Linked DNA regions of Homo sapiens: region 2 is linked to region 1. Evidence: promoter capture Hi-C in human tissues and cell types (Jung and others, 2019). All regions are on one chromosome and are shown on one strand. Each heading gives the region's core, a stretch centred on a gene start or on the middle of the fragment in contact. The rest is flanking DNA. Distances are from core to core; before and after follow the strand shown. Region 1 holds the start of OGN (osteoglycin). Region 2 overlaps CENPP (centromere protein P).

Region 1 (6,606 bases), core at 2,399-4,898:
TGGCAAATGGTGTGCACTCCCAGTTTGAGTTTATCATTGGAAATAAAATTCCACTGTTTGTATTTACTGTATCTTGAGTCAGTTTTTGATTACCACAAGGAATAAAGTCCATTATAGCTATTTTTAAAAGATCCATTTGAAAAATATTTAGATGATACTTACCATCATTTTCTTTCTTGGGAGGTAATGGTGTTATTGCCTCATCTTTTTGTAATTGAAGACTTTTCTCATTGGGTATTATCACAGTTTCTTTTTCCTATTGGAAAAATAAAAGTTTGTTACCTAGCTTCATTAAGTCTGTGTTTCTCTGTAAAATGAAGGGATCACAGACACCTTCTCGTAGTTACAATTAGTGGCATTTCCTTTGTGCTCCATTAGGCTTTCATACATATTTCCATTTTATCATCTATTAAATTACAATAAGTATTTTTTAGCTTGTTTTTATTCTAGACTATGAGCTCCTTGAGTAAAAGAACTGGGTGTTTTTATTTTTATATCGCCAGTAGCTACACTCAGTGCTTAATAAATGTTGAACATCCTGAAATTCCAAATGAAAGCTAGGTGAGAATTCCCTGAATTGGAATGAAAGTTTTTCTGAGGTGAAACTGTTCCTCAGGGGTCTTGTCTGAACTGAGTTTCTCATTCAGATTCTACCATTTTGAGTAAGACTAGAGCTCCAGCCATGTCACAAGTATAAACTACCAATTAAGGTCTTTAGGTCTCTTCTTGGGGTGACCCTTTAATTACCTATATCCCTCCATTAAGCCCTGGCTCTTGGATCCCTTTTATTCCAGCTTACCTTACCTACCCTGCTTGGGCCACTGGGGTAGGCCATTAATTCTGGGGAAATTGGAGTAGATACAATTTAGATCCTGTCTTTCCTGTTCTTGGAGAGTACGTTTTCTGCCATTAGATTACAGTGTATTATGTGGTGTCCTATTCTTTCTGTCCTTTGTAAGCATGTTCCATTTTAGTCTCGGTCTTGACTCCTGACTCTGCCCTTCACCTTCATTCTCCCATCTGTGTGGTGGTTGAACTTCCTCCCTCTACTCTGTGTTTGCACATCAAGTCCTGTTGAATTCTACTCCACTCCACAAATATCTTAGACCCTGCATTTATATTAAGATAGAGAAACTTCTAAAGCCCTGTAAAGAGAAGAAGCAGAGAGAAAAATAATCTCTAAACTCTTTAGGGATCAGGGAATCTTAATAGATTCAAATCATCCAAGTGAGCCAATAGCCTATGTTATGATGGGACTTTTTTTTCTTTAACTTGAAGCTATAATTAGTAATACCTATCCTTTGTGTCTTAGTGATGGGCAAAAATAATGCTATCATATTAAAAGCATTAACTGAAAGAAAGAAACTGTGGTGTTAACATTTGCTCATTGTGTACCCCTGCAAAAAAGAAAAGAGAAAGTAGCAATTATAACTGGTCAATCTTATAAGTCTTTATCCTCCAATTTATAGTGGAGAAGAACTTCTGAAACAATCAGTATTGTTATATATTTGGCTGAATTTCTCATTTTCCAGTGTGTATGTGTATGTGTCATACATAGTGGGCAACAGATACTTAAGTGCTGTATTAACTTTTTCCTTACCCAGCATTCATTTCTGTGTGCCAAGAAAACCACAAGTAATTAGTTTGCCCATAAAGGTGGGGAATGAATGATGTGGTATAACGTCACCCTTGCAGTGTTAACTCAAAGACAGTTACAGTTACTTGGTACCAATTGATAGAGGGTCTAAACTGTTAAAATTGATTTAAAAAGAAAGTCCTATATTGACTAGGTTTTCAGTTTTTGGTACTGTATGTAGATGGCATATATAAATTATTGTGGAATGCTATTGATATCAAAATAACCAGTACTCTTCTATGTATTTTCTTCAAATTGTTTTCTATAATAATAACCTTAAGCTGATAATTCATCTTTATTTCTCCAAATACACATTTCCGCTAATTTATTTTTGAGGCAACACAACATTGCAAGTATAGGGCATTGTGTAACATTACTTAATATATAAATTGCAACTGGTGAGGGATCATCTTAAAGTCTAGTTTTCTTTAAGTTTTATTTTTTGGTTACTATAGATACTGTTTGGTTACCATAGATACCATTTATTAATTTGGAAAGCATACATACTCTAAAAATACAATCTTAGGGACAATTATTATGAATTCGTTTGAATCATTTAAAGTGATTTTCCCTTCCCCTTACCTTATCAGACACATTCAGGAAAAGCAAAAACATGCATTTAAATGGGCAGTATTTTAGAAGCTAAATTTAGAATAGAAATAAAGTACCTTAATATTTTTTCCATCCAGGTATTTATCCTCATAATCTTGGCTAAATATGGATTCTTCAAAATTATCTGTTCCATAATCATAGATAATGCGTGAGTCCTGCTGGGTTGGTGGTGCTGGCTTTATCAGAGGCACAAGCAGTAACAGGAGAAGTGTAGACTGCAGAGTCTTCATTTTAGCAAAAATCAAGGTGACTGGAAGTTAATAAACTAGTGGCCTGCTGACTGTGGGACAAAACTCTCTTTTTCCCTGGAAATAAAAATTCAGACCATCGAAGCAATATTTAAAAGCTTAGAGGATGTTTTGGCAGGGTGTGCGCAGTAAGGGCCAGAGAACAGTATTTAACCCTTAGTGATCTTTAATTAGATGCTAGCAGTTTTTATGTATCAGTGAACATTCTGAAAAATAGTTTTGGAAAATAGTTTTACTTCTCTATCAGAAATTCAAGAAAGATTGATAATTTTAAGTTTCTTAATAATTAAGTGCCTTCAGCAGACATACTAATATTTAATTGAAATATTCTTAGGATACCTGTAGTATAAATAGTTAAAATAAAGTCCCAAGATCCTGTCTCATGTGAGTTAAAAATATCATATTTCCACTTAGCTACTTTATAAGAACTCTTGATTTATATTGGTATGAACAGAAACAAGTTCCAAGAAAAGTTTTAAAACTTAAATTTAACATTATGAAAAGTAGTCATTAACACCTTTAGGTGGTACAGAATATAGGAAAAGCCATACGTTTTTAATTTTCTTAGTTTTGTAATTTTAATAGGTGATCATAATTTTTAGTTAATAGTATTGTATTTTTAATTTAAGCTAAGAAAACTGAAAGAATAGTATTGCAGGCTAGAGGAAATACCGAACTTTAATCAAAGAACTTTGAGGAATGTAATAGAAAGGATTCCTTTAGGCTCATCAATGGATTTTCTCTGGTGGGTACACATTTCAGACTTTTTCTTAAGTAACTTCAAACAGAATCACTCAAGAGTTGCTGATGCTGCATTATAGATGCCAGTTTGTCAAAAATCCAGAGGTTGAAAATGAAGAAGATAATGGATTTGTGACTTCTGCAGCACCCTATTCTTGCCTGCGTGGATGTTAAATTTATGCGATGATATACATAAGTACTTCTTAAAAATTAATTGAGGTAACTGAAACTTAAACCAGAGATGGCCTTTACATTTATTAAGACTATTAGATGAGTCAGTCGCACTTTAACAAACAATATTTAAAATAATATATGAAAAGTAAGCCTACCGTTGTAGCTGTTTTGAAGTTTTTTGTGGTTTTCCTCAATAGATGTTCATGTCTGTGCATTAGCCCCAAGTGGGAGGGTGAATGAGAAAAGCTATGTCTTGATTTCAAACTGCTGAGTAAAATTTCAGGGCCCAGCAGCTTTAAGAACAGTTTCCATGTGGTAGAGATCTTTGCCAGCATTCTTTCTCTAGGGTGAAATGCAGTGTGTTGTACTAGAGAACTGTGCTTAAGTTATTTGTTGTAACTGCTGCACTCAGTCTGCTTCAACTAATTTGACTATAAACTTGTGTGATTTTATTATTGTGTAATAAACATTCATGTTTTGGTGAATATTAGTTTATGAAAAATGATATAGTTTTAAAGTCATCCTTTTCATTTTGGTGATTTCCCAGGAGATCAAACAATCTGCTTTTTGAATGAAATAGGACACCAAATGACAACATAGTCCATGTTGTTAATTTTATGAGGATTAAAAATATTGCCCTAATACCATAATTAATATATAGCCAGTGTAATATATTTTTCCAGTGTAAAAATTAGTTTTAGCACAAATTATTTGATAGTTTTGTCATTTGGATTTTTTCTCCCCTTTATTTTAGTTACATATAAGAAAAACTGATGCATAAAAATTAGCTTTTTAAAAGTAAATTTGATTTATAGTTTTTGAGGTTGATAGTAAAAGATACTTTTGTTTGCTGAATGAAGGAAACTTTATAAAATTACTTTAATATTGAAATTGGCTTTTAAAAATTAAAGTGGCATTGTAGATACCATACAAGCAACTTTGAAGATTTTTTTAAAGAGTCACTTTTAAAAAATTCCTCCTTGGTGCTTTTACCAATCAAATTAACTTTTCTCCTTTAAGCTAAAAATTTAACAAATATGGATATATATTTTATTAAAATAGAAAATGAAAGAATAACAATTTGTTTTCTTTTCTAGACAAAATTGTTTTAGAACCTTTCAAATCAAAGCTTAAATAAACTAAGACTTGAGCACTGAAGTTTTTATTTGAATGTGAATTATCTTAAATTTAATTGTGATATTGTCTGGCTTGAGTTGATATAAATTGTTGGTTTTATGGCTTCAAGGATACAGTAAAACTTTTTTAAATACTTTGAAATATATAATAATGAAACAACAGACATTGATTTGTTTTGTATTGTGTGGCAAGTTAACAAGATATTGAGAAGTAAGCTGGATAGATACCATATGTCCAAATTTAGAGAATCTTAGAGATTCATAGTTTCATTAATGGTACACTTTGATGCTTTGTACTACAGAAAATTATTTTGTGAAGAACAACTTTCCTTGAAAAGTTATGACCAGTGAATACAATGTTATTAGCATTCACTCATTTAATAAAAGTTTATTGAGCGCCAATTCTGTGCCAGGACTTCAGACACGTAAGCTCAGATAAGCAAACTTCAGTTTCTTCCCTCAAGGAAGATTTATAGCCTCTAAGTCAGCAGGAAAAGCAGCAAACAAGCAACTAGAATCCATGGTAGGGCTTGCTACACAGAAATATGCAGAGTTCTGTGATAACCTGGGAGAAGCCACAAACTGACTGGGAGTCAAGGAGACTGCACCCAAACTGACTTCTATAGAGAGGATAGGAGAGGAGGGTAAGCGCAGGTGATGAGGTATTCTAGGCAAGGGGATCATCACGTGCTCCCCTTAGGGAGGGGATGGGGGTAGATCATTCAGAAAATTTATAATTTGTTTTGCATACTGCTGGAGCTTGGAGGGAGAGAGAGAAGAAGTCAGGGGGATGGACCATATTAAGAGATGCGACTAGACAGGGGGAATAGAGGTTGGATTAAAGAAAGTATTTTATATCCTGCTAAAGTATTTGGGCTTTAGTCTGTAGTCAGTGAGAGACCATGTAGAGATTTTTAAGCCAGTGATGGCTTAAATATGATCCTGTTTGCATTTTAGAAACATTCCTCTAATGTTGCATTGCTGAAGAATACCACTGTTCATCTATTGTAGTGGTTATCTATTACTGTGTAAAAAACTACCACAAAGGAATGGCTTAGTTAAAATAACACACATTTATTATCTCACAGTTTCTGTGGGTCAGGAATTTGGCGTGTCTTTGCTTGATGGTCTGCTTCAGGATCTGCATTTGAAGTGCATCTGGCACTGCAGCCTCACTTCAGGGGTTGAGTAGGGAATGATCCAGTTCTAAGCCCATGTGGTTGTTGACAGCATTCAGTTCCTTGCAGAATGTGAAACTGTGGACGTAAGTTTCTTGCTAGCTGTTGACTGACGGCCTCCCTCAGTTCCTTGCCATGTGACTTCCTCAAAAGGGCAGCTCACAACATTGCAGCCTGCTTCTTCACAGCTAGAGGAGGAAATAGTCTTCTGGCAAGATGGGTATTACCCGCACTTCTGATACCAACAGCAATTTCAGGAGATTCCTAGAACCACTCTTATTACATTTGATAATTCCCTAGAAGAACTCTCAGAACTCACTGAAGACCATTATACTCATGATTATGGTTTATATAGAAAAAGGATACACCCTAAAATCAGCCAAAGGGGGAGATGCGTAGGGGCAGTGTCTAGAAGGCTCCAGACTTGAAACTTCCATTGTTCTCTGGATGCATTGCCTTACGTTGATATGTGGCAGTGTATGTGGGGTATTGCCAACCAGGCAAGCTTATTCTCAGTGTTCAGAGTTTTTATTGGGGCTTTATTAATAGGTTTGATTGATTGATTGATTGAATTCAGCCTCCTGGTCCACTGATACTACATAACCCAAATCCCTTATCCTACATCACGTGGTTGGTCTTCCTGGCATAGCCACCTCTACCTCAAGACTATCAGGTGTGGCTGATCTCACCCTAAACAAAAACACTCCTATCAGAAATAACATAGATCACCTCTCAGAAGCCAAGGCAAAGCCCAGACCTCTCTTTAGGCAAAGCCAAAATCTTTACTACACAGTACTCAATATAAAATGCTTGAAACTGAGGTGATTTTCTATTCCAGAAAGAATTGAATGCTGATAGAAAGCTATTTAGCTTTTACTCTA
Region 2 (4,908 bases), core at 1-2,500, 34 kb after region 1:
GGAGTTTGAGACCAGCCTGGCCAACATGATGAAACCCCATCTCTGCTAAAAATACAAAAAAATTAGCCGGGCATGGTGGCAGGTGCCTGTAATCCCAGCTACTTAGGAGGCTGTGGCAGGAGAATCGCTCAAACCCAGGGGTCGGAGGTTGCAGTGAGCAGAGCTCACACCATTGCAATCCAGCCTGGGCAACAAGAGCGAAACTCTGTCTCAAAAATAAATAAATAAATCTTGCTGGGATTTTGGTAGGAATTACATTAAAACTGTATATCAATTTGCCTTTTTTTAATTGGGTTTTTGTCTTATTACACATTGTAAGGGTTCTTTGTATATTCTGGATATAAGTCCTTTATCAAATATATAGCTTGTAATATTTTTCTTCTAGTGTATGATTAGTCTTTTTCTTTTGTCTTTTTTTTTGTTTTGTTTTTTTTTTTTGGACAGAGTCTCGCTATGTTGCCCAGGCTGGAGTGCAGTAGTAGGTTCTTGGTTCACTGAAGCTTCTGCCTCCTGGGCTCAAGTAATCCTCCCACCTCAGCTTCCCGAGTAGCTGAGACCACAGGCATATGCCAACACACCCAGCTAATTTTTGTATTTTTTGTAGAGACAGGGTTTCGCCATGTTGCCCAAGCTGATCTTGAATTCCTGGGCTTAAGCGATCCACTCTGCTTCCCAAAGTGTTGGGATTACAGGCATGAGCCATTGTGCCTAGGCTTTTCATCTTCTTAATAGCCTTTTGGCACATAAATATTAATTTTGTAAAGTCCAATTTATAAGTTATTTTTTGGAGACACTGTCTCACTCTGTTGCCCAGGCTGGAGTGCAGTGGCTCAATCACAACTTACTGCAACTTTAACCTTCCAGGCTCAAGTGATCCTCCCACCTCAGCCTCCAGTGATCCTCCCACCTCAGCCTCCAGTGATCCTCCCTCCTCAGCATCTCGAGTAGCTGAGACCACAGGCATGTGCCTCCACACCTGGCTAATTTTTTTATTGTTTGTAGAGATGAGGTCTCCCTGTGTTGCCCAGGCTGGTCTTGAACTCCTAGGCTCAAGTGATCCTCCCACCTCAGCTACCCATAGTGCTGGGATTACAGATGTCAGCCACTGCACTGGGACCAATTTATGATTTTTTATCTTTTATTTTTCATGCTTTTGGTGTCAAGTCTAAGAACTCTTTGCCTCAGGTCTTAAATATTTTTTCCTGTTTCTTCCAGAAGTTTTATAAGTTTTATCTCTTATATTTAGGTCTATGATCTGTTTTGATTTAATTTTTGTGTGTGGTGTGAGGTTAGGATCTAAGTTCACTTTTTTGCATGTGAATATCCAATTGTCTCAGCACCATTTGTTGAAAGGACAGTTATTTCTCCATTGTCAAAAATTAGTTAACCATAAATGTGCAGGTTTGTTTCTGATCCTCAGTTCTGTTCTATTGCTCTATGTGTCTGCCTTATACCAGTGTCATGCCCTCCTTATTAGGGTAGTTTTACAGTAAGTTCTGCCATTGGAGAGTATACATCCTCTAACTTTGTTGTTCTTTTTCCAAATTGTTTTCACTGTTGTAAGTCCTTTGCATTTTCATATAATTTTTGAGATTGGTGTGTCTACATCTACCATTATTAAGATTTCATAATGATTGAGTGCTTAGTATTTAAACATTGCATTTAAACTGCTTCATTTTTGACTGGGTGTGGTGGTTCTTGCCTGGAATCCCAGCACTTTGGGAGGCCAAGGCAGGTGGATCACTTGAGGTCAGGAGTTCGAGGCCAGCCTGGCCAACATGGTGAAACCCCGTCACTACTAAAAATACAAAAATTAACCAGGCATGGTGGCATGTGCCTGTAATCCCAGCTGCTTGGGAGGCTGAGGCAGGAGAATCTCCTGAACCTGGGAGGCAGAGGTTGCAAAGCTGAGGTTGCATTACTGCACTCCAGCCTGTGTGACAGAGCGAGACTCCATCTCAGTCAATCAATCGGTCAATCAATAAACTGCTTCATTTGTTATTGCTACGTGGTATGGCCTTAGTAAATGCTTGGTGCTGTTCTTTTGTTCTTATTAAGATTTTCCAGTATGGGGAAGTGACTTAGATTTTTTTGCATATGAAGCACAATTCTGTTTGTCCGTTTTCAAGTATTTCATCTTTTTGTTTTCCCAAGTATTTTTATTAGATCGTGTGTTATTATTTTTGCTTCTAGTTAGAAGTTATTGGCTAAATTTTAAAAATATAATAATAGTGGCTTAAGACTATTTTAAAGTAGACCTGGCTTTCTTGTCTTTATTTTCAGACTTCCATAGCTTATTAGAATAAGACTGCCCTCCCATGGTGAAAATTAGGTAATTTTTTTCAGTAAATTTAATGGGCTTATTTTTGGAAAAAATAATTTAAAATATATATATTTTTAAAATATGTGGGAAATAAGTGATAAGCTATTCTGTGTTTCCAAATAAACAGAGATTGTAGAATCCTCCCCAGCCCCCACTAGCTATAGAGTCACAGTGGCTGACCAGCATGGGAGGCCCTGGCCACAGCTTTTCATGAGTTGGTGGTCTTAAGTCACCTGTCTCTCTGGAGAATCAGTTTTATAATCTTAAAATGAAGAGGTTTCAATGAGGCTGCTCCACATCTAAACTTGTGTGGCTCCTTTGTCTTTCTATGCCACCTTCTCTTTGTCTTCCTATTATTTTATGGGATATCGCTTTATATCTAGTCCTCTTTCTCAATCCCATGTTAAAATTCTTGGAATGCTCTTGAGTCTTATTGGTCTGATCCCCTCTATATTTTCTGTAGAATTATGTAATATTACTACAAGTACCATTTGGGTGAAAGGAACTCTTTGATCTTCAAAGTAGTGAAATGATTCTAAGTATGGATAAGAGTGGTGAATATAGAGACCTAGGAACCAGAATTTCTGTTACTTATGTTTATTCAAGTTAATATTTACAGTGGCCTCCCCTTATCCACAGTTTTGCTTTCCCCCATTTGAGTTACCCATGGTCAACCATGGTCCAAAAATATTAAATGGAAAATTCCAGAAAGAAATAATTCATGTTTCAAATTACATGCTATTTTGAGTAGCCTGACGAAGTCCTGTGCTGTCCAGCTCTGTCTAGTCCAGGACATGAATCATCCCTGTGTGCAACATATCCACACTATATACACTCACCTCCCATTAGTCACTTAGGGTTATCAGATCACCTGTCATGGTATCCCAGCACTTACGTTGTAGTAAACCTTATGTCAAAGAGAATCTATAACGGGGTGCCTAGTCTTTTGGCTTCCCTGGGCCACATTGGAAGAAAAAGAATTGTCATGGGCCACACATAAAACACACTAACACTAGTGATAGCTGATGAGTTAAAATAAATAAATAAATAAATAAATAAATAAATAAATAAATCACAAGAAAACTCATCATGTTTTAAGAAAGCTTACGAATTTGTGTTGGGCCACATTCAAAGCCATCCTGGGCTACAGTGGGCCATGGCTGTGGGTTGGACAAGCTTGATCTATAAAGTGCTTCCCTTAAGTGAAAACTTTTCCCTTAGTAAAAGTTCTCAACTTAATAAGGAAAGAAAAAGAATGGTATGGTAAGAGTGCTAACATCTGTAGTAAGACCAAATCTCCTATCTGTAAAATTGTGAAGAAGGAAAAAGAAACTAGTTTAGTTTCCTGTTGCACCTCAAACTGCGAAAGTTATGACCACAATTAATGCATTATAAGTATTTAGTTAAGAGGGAAAAGGCATTAAATCTGTGAGTGGAAGACGTGAACAGAAATGTGTTTTGACTGACAACAATCAGGTTTTGTACTTGCTGTGGTTTCAGGCATCTACAGGGGATGTCTTGAAACATATCCCCCAAGGTAAAACCGAGACTATTGTTCAGTAAGTCCTCACTTAACATCGTCAATGGGTTCTTTGAAACTGCGACTTTAAGTGAAATGACATATAATGAAACCAATTTTACCATAGGCTAATTGTTATCAAACAAGTGTTAAGTTCCTGTGGCATATTTCTGGTTATAGAATCATCACCGAACTTCGTAATGAAGACCCAAAACACTTCTAATATTAAACATTGAAATAAATGTGAGCTATCTGTATGTTTAAGAAAACGTTAATAAAAAACAAGTGCATGAATTTTTGTATTTTATTAGTCATACTTTTGGATGTTACTTACATGGTATGTAACTACAGTGTTAAAATTAATCAAGCTACATATTTATCATCTATGTACTTTTCTATACATATATCAAACATCAATAGAAAGTTTATAAGAAGTCGACAGTATGGATTCAACTACTAATTTATAGGAAATGCAGACAGAGGAATATGTTAAAGTACACCACAAGTACGCAGTCAGCAAAATCTAGACTGTGGGAAATGCCTGTGAGACAAACAACTTGGTTTCTCCATCAAATAAAATGTAAGGAAGAAAAAAAGGGATGAAGGGGAAATGTATAGGTTAAAAAAGACTTAAAAGGTATATTGGCCAGGTGCAGTGGCTCACACCTGTAATCCCCACACTTTGGGAGGCTGAGGCAGGCAGATCACTTGAGCCCAGGAGTTCAAGACCAGCCTGAGCAACATAACAAGACTCCACCTCTACAAAAAACACAAAAGTCAGCCTGGCATGATAGCGCGTACCTGTAGTCCCAGCTACTCAGGAGGCTGAGGCACGAGAGTCACTTCAACCGTGGAGGTGGAGGTTGCAGTGAGCCGAGATCGCGCCACTGCACTCCAGCCTAGGTGCCAGAGTGAGACTCTTAGGAAACAAAGCAAAACAAAACAAAGACTTAAAAGATATATCAACTTATGACATCTGTGTGGGCCTTATGTGGATACTGACTCAACAGACAAACGAGTTTAAAAATTGTGGAACAGTTGGCAAGTTGAACATTTGCTGGGTTTG

The links. Contacts are between HindIII fragments. The study calls those that stand out against the background at their distance.
Region 2: a contact is called between a fragment that was not itself captured here and the fragment with the promoter of OGN in region 1, in 1 of the 25 tissues and cell types used here (aorta).

Annotation. Positions count from the first base shown.
Region 1 is chr9:92,400,930-92,407,535 of GRCh38, forward strand. OGN (osteoglycin) reads right to left here and starts at 3,649. Exons shown (of 7, transcript NM_014057.5): 1 at 3,567-3,649; 2 at 2,305-2,553; 3 at 163-256. The coding sequence starts at 2,478. All of the region lies in intron 5 of CENPP (centromere protein P), which reads left to right. The HindIII fragment of the contact is 4,115 bases long and covers 1,271-5,385 here.
Region 2 is chr9:92,436,991-92,441,898 of GRCh38, forward strand. The region is part of intron 5 of CENPP (centromere protein P); the gene reads left to right. Among named protein-coding and RNA genes, the nearest start is that of OMD, 15 kb to the left of the region's middle. The HindIII fragment of the contact is 4,423 bases long and covers 1-3,462 here.